Linked DNA regions of Homo sapiens: region 2 is linked to region 1. Evidence: promoter capture Hi-C in 16 types of primary human blood cells and fetal thymus (Javierre and others, 2016). All regions are on one chromosome and are shown on one strand. Each heading gives the region's core, a stretch centred on a gene start or on the middle of the fragment in contact. The rest is flanking DNA. Distances are from core to core; before and after follow the strand shown.

The links. Contacts are between HindIII fragments. The CHiCAGO score rates a contact against its expected background, and 5 or more counts as called.
Region 2: the fragment with the promoter of CDK5RAP3 here is called in contact with the fragment with the promoter of LINC02086 in region 1 in 4 of 17 cell types (non-activated CD4 T cells, naive CD8 T cells, neutrophils and 1 more); the score reaches 6.2 in non-activated CD4 T cells.

The regions. Positions count from the first base shown.
Region 1 is chr17:48,639,639-48,645,371 of GRCh38, reverse strand. LINC02086 (long intergenic non-protein coding RNA 2086) reads right to left here and starts at 2,745. Exons shown (of 8, transcript NR_189645.1): 1 at 1-2,745. All of the region lies in intron 1 of LINC03057 (long intergenic non-protein coding RNA 3057), which reads left to right. RefSeq lists enhancers at 2,151-3,147, 3,148-4,146. The HindIII fragment of the contact is 12,737 bases long and covers 591-5,733 here.
Region 2 is chr17:47,967,784-47,973,516 of GRCh38, reverse strand. CDK5RAP3 (CDK5 regulatory subunit associated protein 3) reads right to left here and starts at 2,404. Exons shown (of 14, transcript NM_176096.3): 1 at 2,365-2,404; 2 at 2,110-2,155. The coding sequence starts at 2,370. RefSeq lists an enhancer at 1,415-2,042 and a silencer at 2,464-2,753. The HindIII fragment of the contact is 1,666 bases long and covers 1,398-3,063 here.

The DNA.
Region 1 (5,733 bases), core at 1,496-3,995:
ACAAATGGAAGCACAAAGATGCCTAATGGAGAAGAGTTAAGTGAAAGTTCTCTTTTCTCAGTGCACTTCCCTAACCCTTTGAGGAAGCAAGTCTGGGGGGCCTTTCCTGATAGGATCTTCCCTCCAAATCCCTTTTGGAGCTGGAGCTCCTCTCTTTCCCTAAAGTCTGGCGCACTTGGCTCCAAGTCCCCATTTCTCCAGTCCAGAAGGGATGAAGCCTCCTCCACCCCAAACATATAGCCTTTGGCTCGCTGGGAGGAGAATTGCTCACCTTCTGCGGTGGTTTAGAACACCACCCTACACAGGGATACACATACACAGTGCCCCAGAGGAAATGCAAAGAAAGGTTTTGCTAGTCCAAGCAAGGTGTTGTGGGAGACCTCAGAGACCCTTAGAAAGAGCCTCACTCCCCACACTGCAACTTGAAAGACCCAGGACATCCCTCCCACCCCCAGGACAGACAGGGTTCTCACCAGCTGGGAACGCACAGAGCCCGTGACAACAGGAGGATCTGTTGGGCTGGGAACTTCACATCCCACCCACCCTGCCTCCAACTTCTTTTTTTTTCTGGCCAGATTAAAAGTCAAGCTTAAAGTGCTGTTGGGTTAGAGAGTTTCATTGTTTTAGTCTATTGGTTTCTCTCCCTCATTTTCTTCTCCCTCATCTCCCTTTTACTCCCAGGTTTTGCCCATTTTTTTTCTCTCTCTCCACACAGAAAATCTGTGAATTTTCTGGGCTTGAACGGAAGGAATGAGGAGGGAAAGGAGGGAATATTTGACCTATCCAGGCAGCACTCAGAGCTGTAATTGACACCAAGTCATCCTAGTAGACCTTGTCCTCACAGGCTTAGAGGATATTTGATTCCAGAATCCCCCACCAGCACCCCAAGATCCAGTGGTACCTCCTTCCTCCTTGGGGCTTCTATAGTTTTCAAAAATGGGAGAAATCAAAAATGCCATCATTATTCCAGTGACCGGGTGTGGAGGGAGTCTGCAGTTTGGCCAGAGGCCTGGTCTCAGAGAAAGGAGTCCTGAGGGCTGGGGGGTTGGGGCAAGGCCTAGGGCCAACTTGGTTCTGACCTTGCCTGCCAGTAGAGAATCTTGGGCTCTTCACCAAGTAAAGGCAAGATCAAGGGACTGGAGGTCTGAGTCCCTCTCTTGCCTAACTGCCCCAAGGGCCCCAGAAACTACTCTGGGCCAAAAATCAGTAATAGTTGAAAGAAAGAAACAAATACTGAAAACACCCAGATTTATAATCTGCTTAGACACCCAAACTCATCCTTAAAGCAGTAAATAAAATTTATCTCCTTGACTGCCTTGCAACTTTCTACTCAGTTTGGCAATGTGTAGATGGGGTCAGCTTGAGTTTCAGAGCTTGGGGGTCCAGCACTAAATGTCTAGAGAGCTAGATCTGGGGCCTCTCACCCCCTTTCCTCATATACCTCCTCTTGCTTCCTTCCCCTCCCAGGGCTTCTCAGAAAGTGACAGCTGACTTCCTTTTAGAACTGTGAAATCCCACAATTTCAGAGGATTTCAAATTCCTTGAACTTCAGGTTGAGAGCTATTTGGATTAATCAGAGAAGTTTGTGTCTGGAAAATGATGCCAGATTTAGCCAGAAAACTGAAAGACCAAATGCTTTACTTTTTTTTTCCTTTGTCTGATCTCAGTGCTTATCAGGTCAACCTTCACCTTTAAAAACACCCTGGTGGCAGTATTTCTTTGCCATCACTGTCTGTAAAGCAAAGGGCAAGCATCTCAGGGCTTTTAGTTGGGCCGGGAATTCAAATGTCTCCTTTCTCAAGAAGATGCCAAAGTGGCCACCCTCAGCCCACTTTCCGTCCTTACCTCCTCTGCCCTTTCCCCAGCTGTAGTTATAGGAATAATGGCCTTTAACTTGCAGAGATCATTAAGGCCAAAGCCCTCACTCCTTCCCATCTCTCCTCTTGGGGCCGTCTGAGTCGCTTCCTCCACGACCCTCCTCTTTTGAAGCACTCCCTAGTACTGTTAAAGGCCGAATTTGGGCTGGAGCGAAGATGGGGGCTCAGTCCAAAATAACCTAGATATTAAGTAATAGTAATGATTTTTTTAAAAGGTAACTATGAACTCTCAAGCCTCGACCACCCAGTAAAGTTCCTCCTTAAATTGTTGCCGGCCCTGGGTGCAGACACGCAAGGACTGGCCAGAACGCGAGAAACTTCTTCAAGGAGAGAGAAGTCAGGGCCCAAATTCCTCATGCTTTAAAGCAGTATAAGAGGAGAGAGTCCAAATTTTTACTCGTTAAACCTCCTCTTACCTCTTCCTCAGGTCTGTTCACTCCTTGGTCCAGGGACCGGAGCTCCTGGGCTTCGAGGTGAACCAGAGGGAACGTGGCTCCCCGCAGCAACCTTTTTGCTTCAGGGCTCCTCCTGGGGGCTGAGTGGTCCCCTTTGCTTTGCTATTCCCGCTGCGGCTCCTGGGGGGACAGCTCCGTGGGACCAGGTCTCTCAGGGGGTGGAGGGTCGCCGAAGTCGTGACCAGGAGTTGGAGACCGCTGCGTCCCTCCGCTGCGGACCTGCCTGGGACTGCGTGGAATGGACCAAGTCCTCCGTCTAGGATTCCCTAGTGCTCGACGGCGCGCACTCCGCAGTGCTCCGCTGGAGATCTGCACCTGTGTCCCGGGGCTGGGCGCAGAGTGAAGATCTCCGTGCACGCTGCTGACCGGCTCGGCGACTGCCTCCCTGCTGTGAGCAGGAGAACAGGAAGTCTGCCCGACAGGGAGGTGGCCGGGCGGGAGCGGCAGAGTCGGCGTTGAGAGGAGGGTCAGCTGCACCTCGGGATTCCGCGCGCCTTCAACTCCCTCTTGCGGACAGCCCAGCCGCGGGTTGGCGCCGCAGTGATGGAACCTGGGGAGGGCCTAGCTTAGAGTCCCAGCAGTCCAGAGGAGGGGACCAGAGCAGAGGATTAGGAACGGGGCTTTCATATCCAGCCTAGGCGCCCAGAAGCGGCACTTAAGGGGCGAAGGGAGGCCGCAATTACAAAGGTGCGCCCTCCGACGCCTCAACGTCAAGGGCCTGTAGATTCACAACCTCCTCTGTCGGGGATGGGGGAAGATGAGGTGGGATAGGGAGGCTATGTCCAGCCACCAGCGCAGGGAGTGGCTCTAAACGCTGACCCAACGCCTCGCCCCAAGCGGGATCTTGGCGCGCAGATAGACCGAGCCCGTGGTGGGGCGCCATGCCGGGCTCCCTCGCCCTTACCGAGTGAGCATCTTCTTCCCAATTTGCTGCTCAGAGAGGGAGTGGGTCCTAGTCTCTGGATCTCAGCGCTCACGACTACCTCGCTGCTCCTAACGAACGGTTCATCTGCTCTCTCCTGGCCGCCTGCGCCAGCGCCGCTCACCCACTTTTCCAGCCCTGGATCTCCTCTCCCCGGATGCGTCCTTCCTTCCCACAATTAACAAATGATCTAGCGAAACCCCGCCAGGTCCCCGGCAGAGAAGCACCTCCATCCGCCCTAACCAACCAATTAATCAGATCATTAAGGAGCCTGAGGAGTTGTAATTGGGTGGTTTGGGACGAGGGGGCGCTGAGGAGGTCATTAACCTCCCCGTAAAGATGGGGAACGGAGACGCGCCTGGCCGCCTCTGCCGCCCCTGCCGCCCCTGCCGCCCCTGTGGGCTCTTCTTAGCACGCGGGTTTTGGCCACTCCACCTGCCTGCTGCGCTCCAGTTCCCGCCTCCAGTCCAGCTATTTCACTTCTCTCTTTGTCATTCTCCGTCTTTTCTCTGGCAACCGTCCAGGGCCCCTTTCTTTGTGCCTACTTCTGTCTACCTGTCCAGCTGCCTCTTGCACCCTTTCTGTGGCCCAGCGGCCAAGAAAACTCAAAGGTCATGGCTGTTGGCCCCCGCTGATGATCTCTGGGCTCCCGGGTCTCAGACAATTCCTCAGGGCTGGCTAGAAATGGTGGGAGCTGGAGATTTGGACACTATACCCATTCCCCAAGAGAAGGGCATTTGCAAAGGGGAAGTGTTTCCTGAAACGTTCAATTCTCTTTCGGTATGAGATAGCTTTGGACAAGGTGACAAATGGCGGAAGGTCCAGGCCCCAGTGGATAAAAGCTCCATATTAATTTAATTAGAGACACAGAGACCTTGCATACTCCTTGTCTGCACAGGCAAATATGGAGGAGGTAGTGATTGGGTGTTGTGGCCTGACTGGTCTCAGTCTAAGAGTCCCCAGCACCTGTGACCTGGTTCCTGGTGTTCCAAGAAGTCCAGGTGACAGTATCTGTTCAACCTTGTGGAACAATAAATTGTTTGTCCTTTTAATTTGTCTTGTCAGATCCCCAAGTATATTACAATGCCTCCCTCTGCATTACATTTTTGGTTGGTTGTGTAAGAATGGTGGATGAGAGGTTCTTAACATTTTGGGGCCACTCCCTGATATGATAATTTAAATTTTGATGAACAATATTGATTCCCCTCTACCCAGAAAAAAAATGTGCGTATGTAGTACTCACCAAATCCCACAATTTCAGAGAGTTTCAGACTCCTCAGACACCAAGTTAACAACTACAATTTGGATAGATCAAAGGAGCTGGTGTCTGGGAAATGCCGAGGCCAAATATAGTCAGTTTACGTAGGTCTTCACCCTTTCTCTTGGCTGACATCTCCATTTTGCCAGGCCAGCCTTCACCTGTAAAAACACTCCGGTGGCAGTGTCCTCTCCCCACCATTACCTGTAGGGTCTGGGCTCCCAGTGGGAGTCAGTCTTTCCTTCCCAGCAGCTGGGAGCCTGAGAACGTGGGAAGAGCTTTGCTGGGGAAAGCTGATCTTAGACTGGCCAGCAGTTGGACCAGCAATGGAAGGAAATCAGGCTTAAGCAGCTTCCCAGGGACTAAAAACCATACCAGAACTCCTGGAAGGGAAGACTATCTGGAAACAGCCTCCTAACTAAAGCTGCCTATAAGTCAAGCAAATGGGGACTGGGCAATAGAATGTTCCTTTGTGTCCCTTATTGACTCACTTATTCCATTTCCTCAGGGACCCAGCTCTACTTGGGGCTGATTTAGCCAAGGTTAGAGGCTGGGGAATACCAAATGCTGAACTTAAAGGGGAAGGATTTGCTCCCTAATATTTTAGTAATCTTGTTTGTAAGAGATAAACAGCATGTGACCCCTGACTATCCTGGGGGACCTCCTAATTACGCCCAGCCTCTTGTGTTGTGGCCTGTTTAGACACAGAGTGTAAAGAAGGACTTAGCTCTTCTTTCCCGGCCTATTAAGTTTCCTGGCCATCTCCCCACATGTGTGAATTGACCAAGCTAGATCTCCCAGGAGAAAAATCAGGCTTCTTTGGGGTCTGGGAAGTAAAAAGAAACTTCCTTTTTCAAGGACTATGTTAAGACAAATTAGGAGAACTGGAAATTATCTGGCTAATTGTACCCTCCCCCTCCATACATACTTACACTCCAAACCCAAGCCCTCCTGGCTGCTCCTCAATTGTCTATACATTTCAAACAAATGTGACTTGGCACAGGAAAGACTCCAACTCATTTCTAGTTGCCCCTCTCTGTGCTGCACAACCACCACCCACCTGCCCAGCAGTTCGAGGCTGTGACAAGAAGCCAATGGTTGGCTAATAGTATTCAGACCCCTGCCTGAAAATACAAAGAAAAAAATAAACAATTCTCTTCTTGGGACAGCTTAAACTGGATAATCTTGGCTGTGAAAACCTGACCTAAATGCTTTTAATCA
Region 2 (5,733 bases), core at 1,155-3,654, 670 kb after region 1:
ACATGAGAAGCACCCAAATTAGAGCATTCCCATTCACATCACCAAAATTCCATCACTAATTCGAGTGAAATACACTGAAATTAGTCTAAAAGTTTTCTTTACATTGGTTAAAGTATGGGGGTCATGGGAAGATGGGAATAAAGACAAGCCCAAAGAGATGCCTGGGGCTAAACCAGGCTCTGACAATCTGACTTCATTAGCAGTGTGATTTTTATAGAGCAATTGCCTCAACACAGGGATAACAAAAAGTTTAAATTGGTCCTGAAAGTGCCACTTTTGACCATTCTCAATTCCCCATAATATTTTTGCTTCTATGGGTAATTATATCTTTCTTCCTGACAAGAGGATGCTGCTCAACTTCCATTTCCTCAGGGCTGGGGTTAACCATGACAATGGAAAATACAAGATGGTTATGCCAAGTACTGGATGAATGAACAGCTGCAAAGCCCCTAATACCTACAGCGCCCTAAGGACTAGATAACATGACTCTGTTGTGAACAGTGAAGTACCACCCTGTACATGTGAATACCAATGGGACTGACCTCTCAAAGTCTGGGCCCAGATTTGTGGCTTCAGAGCCATGCATATTTCCTCAGTGAGAGCTAAGAGCTGAGCTTTGTGGTCAGATGGTCCTGGGTTCTCGTTATCAAGTTTCTTGAGCAAGTCTACTATTCTGTGCCTCAGTTTTCCCACATGTAAAATGGGGAATAATAAGACACTGACTAGAAAAGGGAATGCAGGTAAAACACTGAACAGTGTGCCTGAGACACGGCAAGGACTCAAAAAATGACAGTGATCATTTTTATCATGTCAAGTGCCTAAAACAGCACCTGGTACAAAAAAAAACCCTCAATGAATGGTGGTCATTTTATTGGTCCTTTTCATGACCAAGAACAAGCTCACACACCAAGACTGCACATGGGCTGAAGGGCCAGTACAAATCTGAAGGGAGGCTAAAGAAGCTTCCCCCGTGACCACCAAGCAGGACTGACTAAATGGCACTACAGAGTGGTGAATTCAGAACTTGAACTCTGCCAACCGGTCAAACGCTGGGGTCCCACACTAGTATCAGTTATACTCTCTCTGCTATATTCCTGTAAAGTTTTCAGAAAGAAAAATTCTGTTGATGTCACAGAACTAGAAGCAACGGACTGGGGTAGTCAAACAGACACCATCTTAAGGACAAGATTGGCATCAAATCCATGAATCCAATAAGCATTTTAAAATGCCAGGAGCTGTGTGATCAGATGAAGAGGCCTTCCCTGACTATGAACTGGGGAGGAAGTATGTAAGCCCCATACAGACAACCTGGAGATGGCCTGGACACTAAAAGGTTTTCATTTGCAACTGGGTCTTAGGTCCCTCTTCCTCCTAAAATCAAGGGGGAGGTGGAAGCTTTTTAAATGAGGTTTTTTTTTTTTTTCCTGGCATAATGCAAAAGGCATGGACAGTGGGTCAGACAGACTTAAGTTCCAATTCAGATGTGCCACTTAGTGGTTGACTGTTTTTTGTCTTCTTTTTGAGATGGAGTTTCGCTCTCGTTGCCCAGGCTGGAGTGCAATAGTGAGATCTCTGCTCACCGCAACCTCTGCCTCCGGGGTTCAAGCAATTCTCCCACCTCAGCCTCCCGAGTAGCTGGGATTACAGGCATGTGCTCCCATGCCCGGCTACTTTTTATTTTTATTTTTTTGTATTTTTAGTCATGGAGACATGGAGACAAGGTTTCTCCATGTTGGTCAGGCTGGTCTCGAACTCCTGACCTCAGGTGATTCGCCCACCTCGGCCTCCCAAAGTGCTGGGATTACAGGCATGAGCCACCGCGCCCGGCAGTGGTTGACTGTTTTTAAAGCGAGTCATTTATCCTGTCCCTGAATGATACGATAACATATGTTATTAAAGGAGAAAACGCAGGTCAAACAGACTGTACATATGGTTCGTTCCCGCTGCTATCAGGGAAGCAGGTCTGGCCACAGATGGGGCATAGAACGAGGCCAGTGGTCAGCATCTCGACTCAGGCTTTCAGGGGTCAGAGCTCCCGGCTATTGGACACAGGGGGCAACGCACAGGCCTCCCCCCGACAGCCAGCTGCGCGGTGGCGCCCCCTCCTACCGAGCAGCTTGCTGGTCTGGATGTCGATGGGCACGTGCTGATGGTCCTGGCGGGAAACACGGTGAGGAGGGGGGCGTGAGCGCGGAGAGAGGACGTACCACTCGCGCGCTCATTTCAACGTCCCAACCACCACCCTGCAGGGCCAGAACGGGGCCAGAGCGATGGGCTGGGTTGAGCCGCTTCCGGAGGGAGACCGGAGACACAGGTTAGGGGTCCGCGGCCAGTCCCCAGCACACCCAGCTCCTGTCCCCACACCTCCATCTTTCCTCCACTTCCGCTTCAGGCTGGAGACTGTGGCCCGCCCCGCCCTACCACCAATCCAGTGGCGTTGTGGCCGAGCCTCCGTTTAGACACAAACGGGCATCCTTCGGCCACGTCGCCGCCTTCCGTACAGCCAATCAGGGTTTACGCTCCACTCAGGCCTCAAGCCCCGCCCACCCCAGGCTCCGAATGGCTGAGCTCGGGAGGGGCGGGAGAATGGAGACAGCCAATTGGAGACGCGAGGCGGGCTCAGGGCAGGGGACGGGAGGGGGTGCGCTGCAGCGGCCGTGGGATTGCGACAGGCGGCGCTCGAGAGCCCAGCCTGGCAGCCGCTTCCCCTGGCGGGCACTGGGTCTTCTCCACGCAGATTGAGACGTCTGCTGGCGGGGTCCTAGCGCCGATCTGGGAGGCCGTTGCAAATACCTTCTTCCCTCCTTGCGTCGCTTTACCATCCAGAGCAGTGTGCAGGTCTCTTGTGGCACTTGTCATGCTTTGCCTCCTCATTCAGTTTCTCTAATAGACATGGTTGAGCACCTGCAACGTGTTGGGCGATTAGGGCAGGGAAGGGGAAGGAAGAGAGTCGGTGAGACGTCCCAAAGAGAACACCTACATTGAGTCTAAACGAAGAGCTGAAGATAGCTGGGTGATGTGGGAAGAGGAGTTTTAGGTGGAGGAGACTACACAGACAAAGCTTAGGTGGCCACAAACTGCAAGAGGGGTGCAAGCAACAACAGGCAGGCAGGACGGGCAACGTAATTTGTGAGGTCCAGTGCAAAATGGAAATGCACAGCTGCTTGTTACAAAATGATGAAGAATTTCAAGATGAAGTCGGCTCCGCGGGCAGGCCAACCTCTATACCGTAGATGGTTTGAGGCAGCGAGTGGCTAGAGGAGAGGCTGTAAGGGTGGAAAGGCCATATCAAAGGGAGACTTATTAAGGAACTTGGACTTCATCCCTTCAGACAGAGGAATCACAGAAGGGGTTTGAGGCAGGGAGGAACCTGTACAGATAGGCTGCTGGGATGATGGATGCATGGGAGATAAGACTGGGGACAAGGAGGCTGGAAGGAGGTTGTTATCGAGGGATTATAGCCTGAGCTGGGACACAAGATATGAGGAGGAAGGGGAAGGGCTGGATCTGAGGAATATTTAGGAGGAAAATGTATAGGACTTGGCAATTGATTGGCTGTTTGGGTGGAGGAGAGAGACACTAAGGATGACACCTAGGTGATTAGGTGGGAACCACCACCTGAGACAGGGATGCAGGATGCTGAGCAGGTGTTGGGGAGGAGGGGGTCTAGCTTTGAACCTAGTCTGGCAATGCTGGGAGACCCCCAGATGGAAAGTGTGCAGAAGGCACTTGGGTCTATAATTTTGGAGTTCGAGGGAGTTGTCGGGGCTGGAGATACAGCTTGGAGAGTCACAAGCTGGCTAATCTGTGGTCCGAGTGGTGGCTGAAGCTAAGGGAGAGTCTGAGATTGGCCAAGAAGTGGGTAGAGTAAGGAGGGAGGGTAGGCTGAGGCCAGATCCCCCAGGATCTCACAGCGCTGGGTATGCCTTTTCTTTTTTTTTTTTTTTTTTTTTTTTTTTTGAGACGGAGTCACGCTCTGTCGCCCGGGCTGGAGTGCAGTGACACGATCTCGGCTCACTGCAAGCTCTGCCTCCTGGGTTCACGCCATTCTCCTGCCTCAGCCTCCCCAGTAGCTGGGACTACAGGCGCCCGCCACCACGCCCGGCTAATTTTTTTGTATTTTTAGTAGAGACGAGGTCTCACCGTGTTAGCCAGGATGGTCTCGATTTCCTGACCTCGTGATTCTCCCGCTTCAGCCTCCTAAAGTGCTGGGATTACAGGCGTGAGCCACCGCGCCCGGCCCTGGGTATGCCATTTCTAAATATTCCTTCCCCAGCTCCTGTTCACCACAGCACAACACTTGAGGCTTAGTAAATTTTTGATTGAAATGCATAGTGTGATACAGCAGCAGGAAGACCTAGATTCTGCCCAGTGAGGTCTTGGACCATTTCTATAACCTATCTGATAGCCACAGTTTCCCCACATGGAGATAACAGCTATCCTATCTCAGGGTATTTCTGTTTAGAGGCTTAAATAAACACACTAGTAACTCATGACAGTTTACAACATACTGTGGCTGTATTTCTCATGCTTTGTAAACTCTCCCTATATGAAATATCATATATGGGCCAGGCGCGGTGGCTCACGCCTGTAATCCCAGCACTTTTGGGAGGCTGAGACAGGCGGATCACCTAAGGTCAGGAATTCGAGACCAGCCTGATCAACATGGTGAAATCCCATCTCTGAAAAAAACAAAAAACACGCTGGGCACGGTGGCTCACGCCTGTAATCTCGGCACTTTGGGATGCTGAGGCGGGTGGATCACGAGGTCAGGAGTTTGAGACCAGCCTGATCAACATGGTGAAACCCTGTCTCTACTAAAAATACAAAAATTAGCTGGGCGTGGTGGCGTACGCCTGTAATCCCAGCTACTCAGGAAGCTGAGGCAGGAGAACTGCTTGAACCCGGGAGGCGGAGGTTGCAGTGAGCCGATATTGCGCCACCGCACTCCAGCCTGGGCGACAGAGTGAGACTCCATCTCAAAAACAAAACAAAACAAAAAACAAACAAACAAACAAAAACAAAAACCATCCCGGCGTGGTGGTGCATGCCTGCAGTCCCAGCTACTCAGCTACTCGGGAGGCTGCGGCGGAAGAATCACCTGAACTTGGGAGGCGGAGGTTGCAATGAGCCCAGATTGCGCCACTGCACTCCAGCCTGGGCAACAGAGTGAGACTCCATCTCAAAATATATATATATGTCATATATGATCATTATTATTATAGAACGGATTGAAAAACTGCTCTGAAAATGGCTCATAGAGCTGAATTAAGGGCCTTTTCAGGGATCTTTCATGGGAATTTGGCTCCCATCTGAGTCAGCCTGACTCAGACTGTAGGAATTGCTCAGGCTCCTCCATGATTAAACACACACTTAACTGGGCCCCAACTATGTGCTCGGGGCTGTCTGGGACATCTCAAGAGCAAGGCACTGCCCTGCCCTCAAGGTGTATCTATCTCTCTTCCTTGAACCAACAGGCTGGGCAGAACAGGACAGGGTGGGTCTGGAAGACCCAGCCCAGGTGAGTTGATGGAAGCAGGGACCACCAGCACTTCAGCCCCACCCACAGCTCCCCAAGGTGACTCACGTGGAGCAGAAGGATGTTTGAGAACAGTTCTGCCCAGCTACTGACTCCAGGGAGGCTGTCCCAAAGCCAGAGGCTCTGGGAGAGAACCTGCCTCTGCTGACTGCAGAGGCTCTGGGGGAGAGCCTGCCAAAGGCACATGCTTCTGT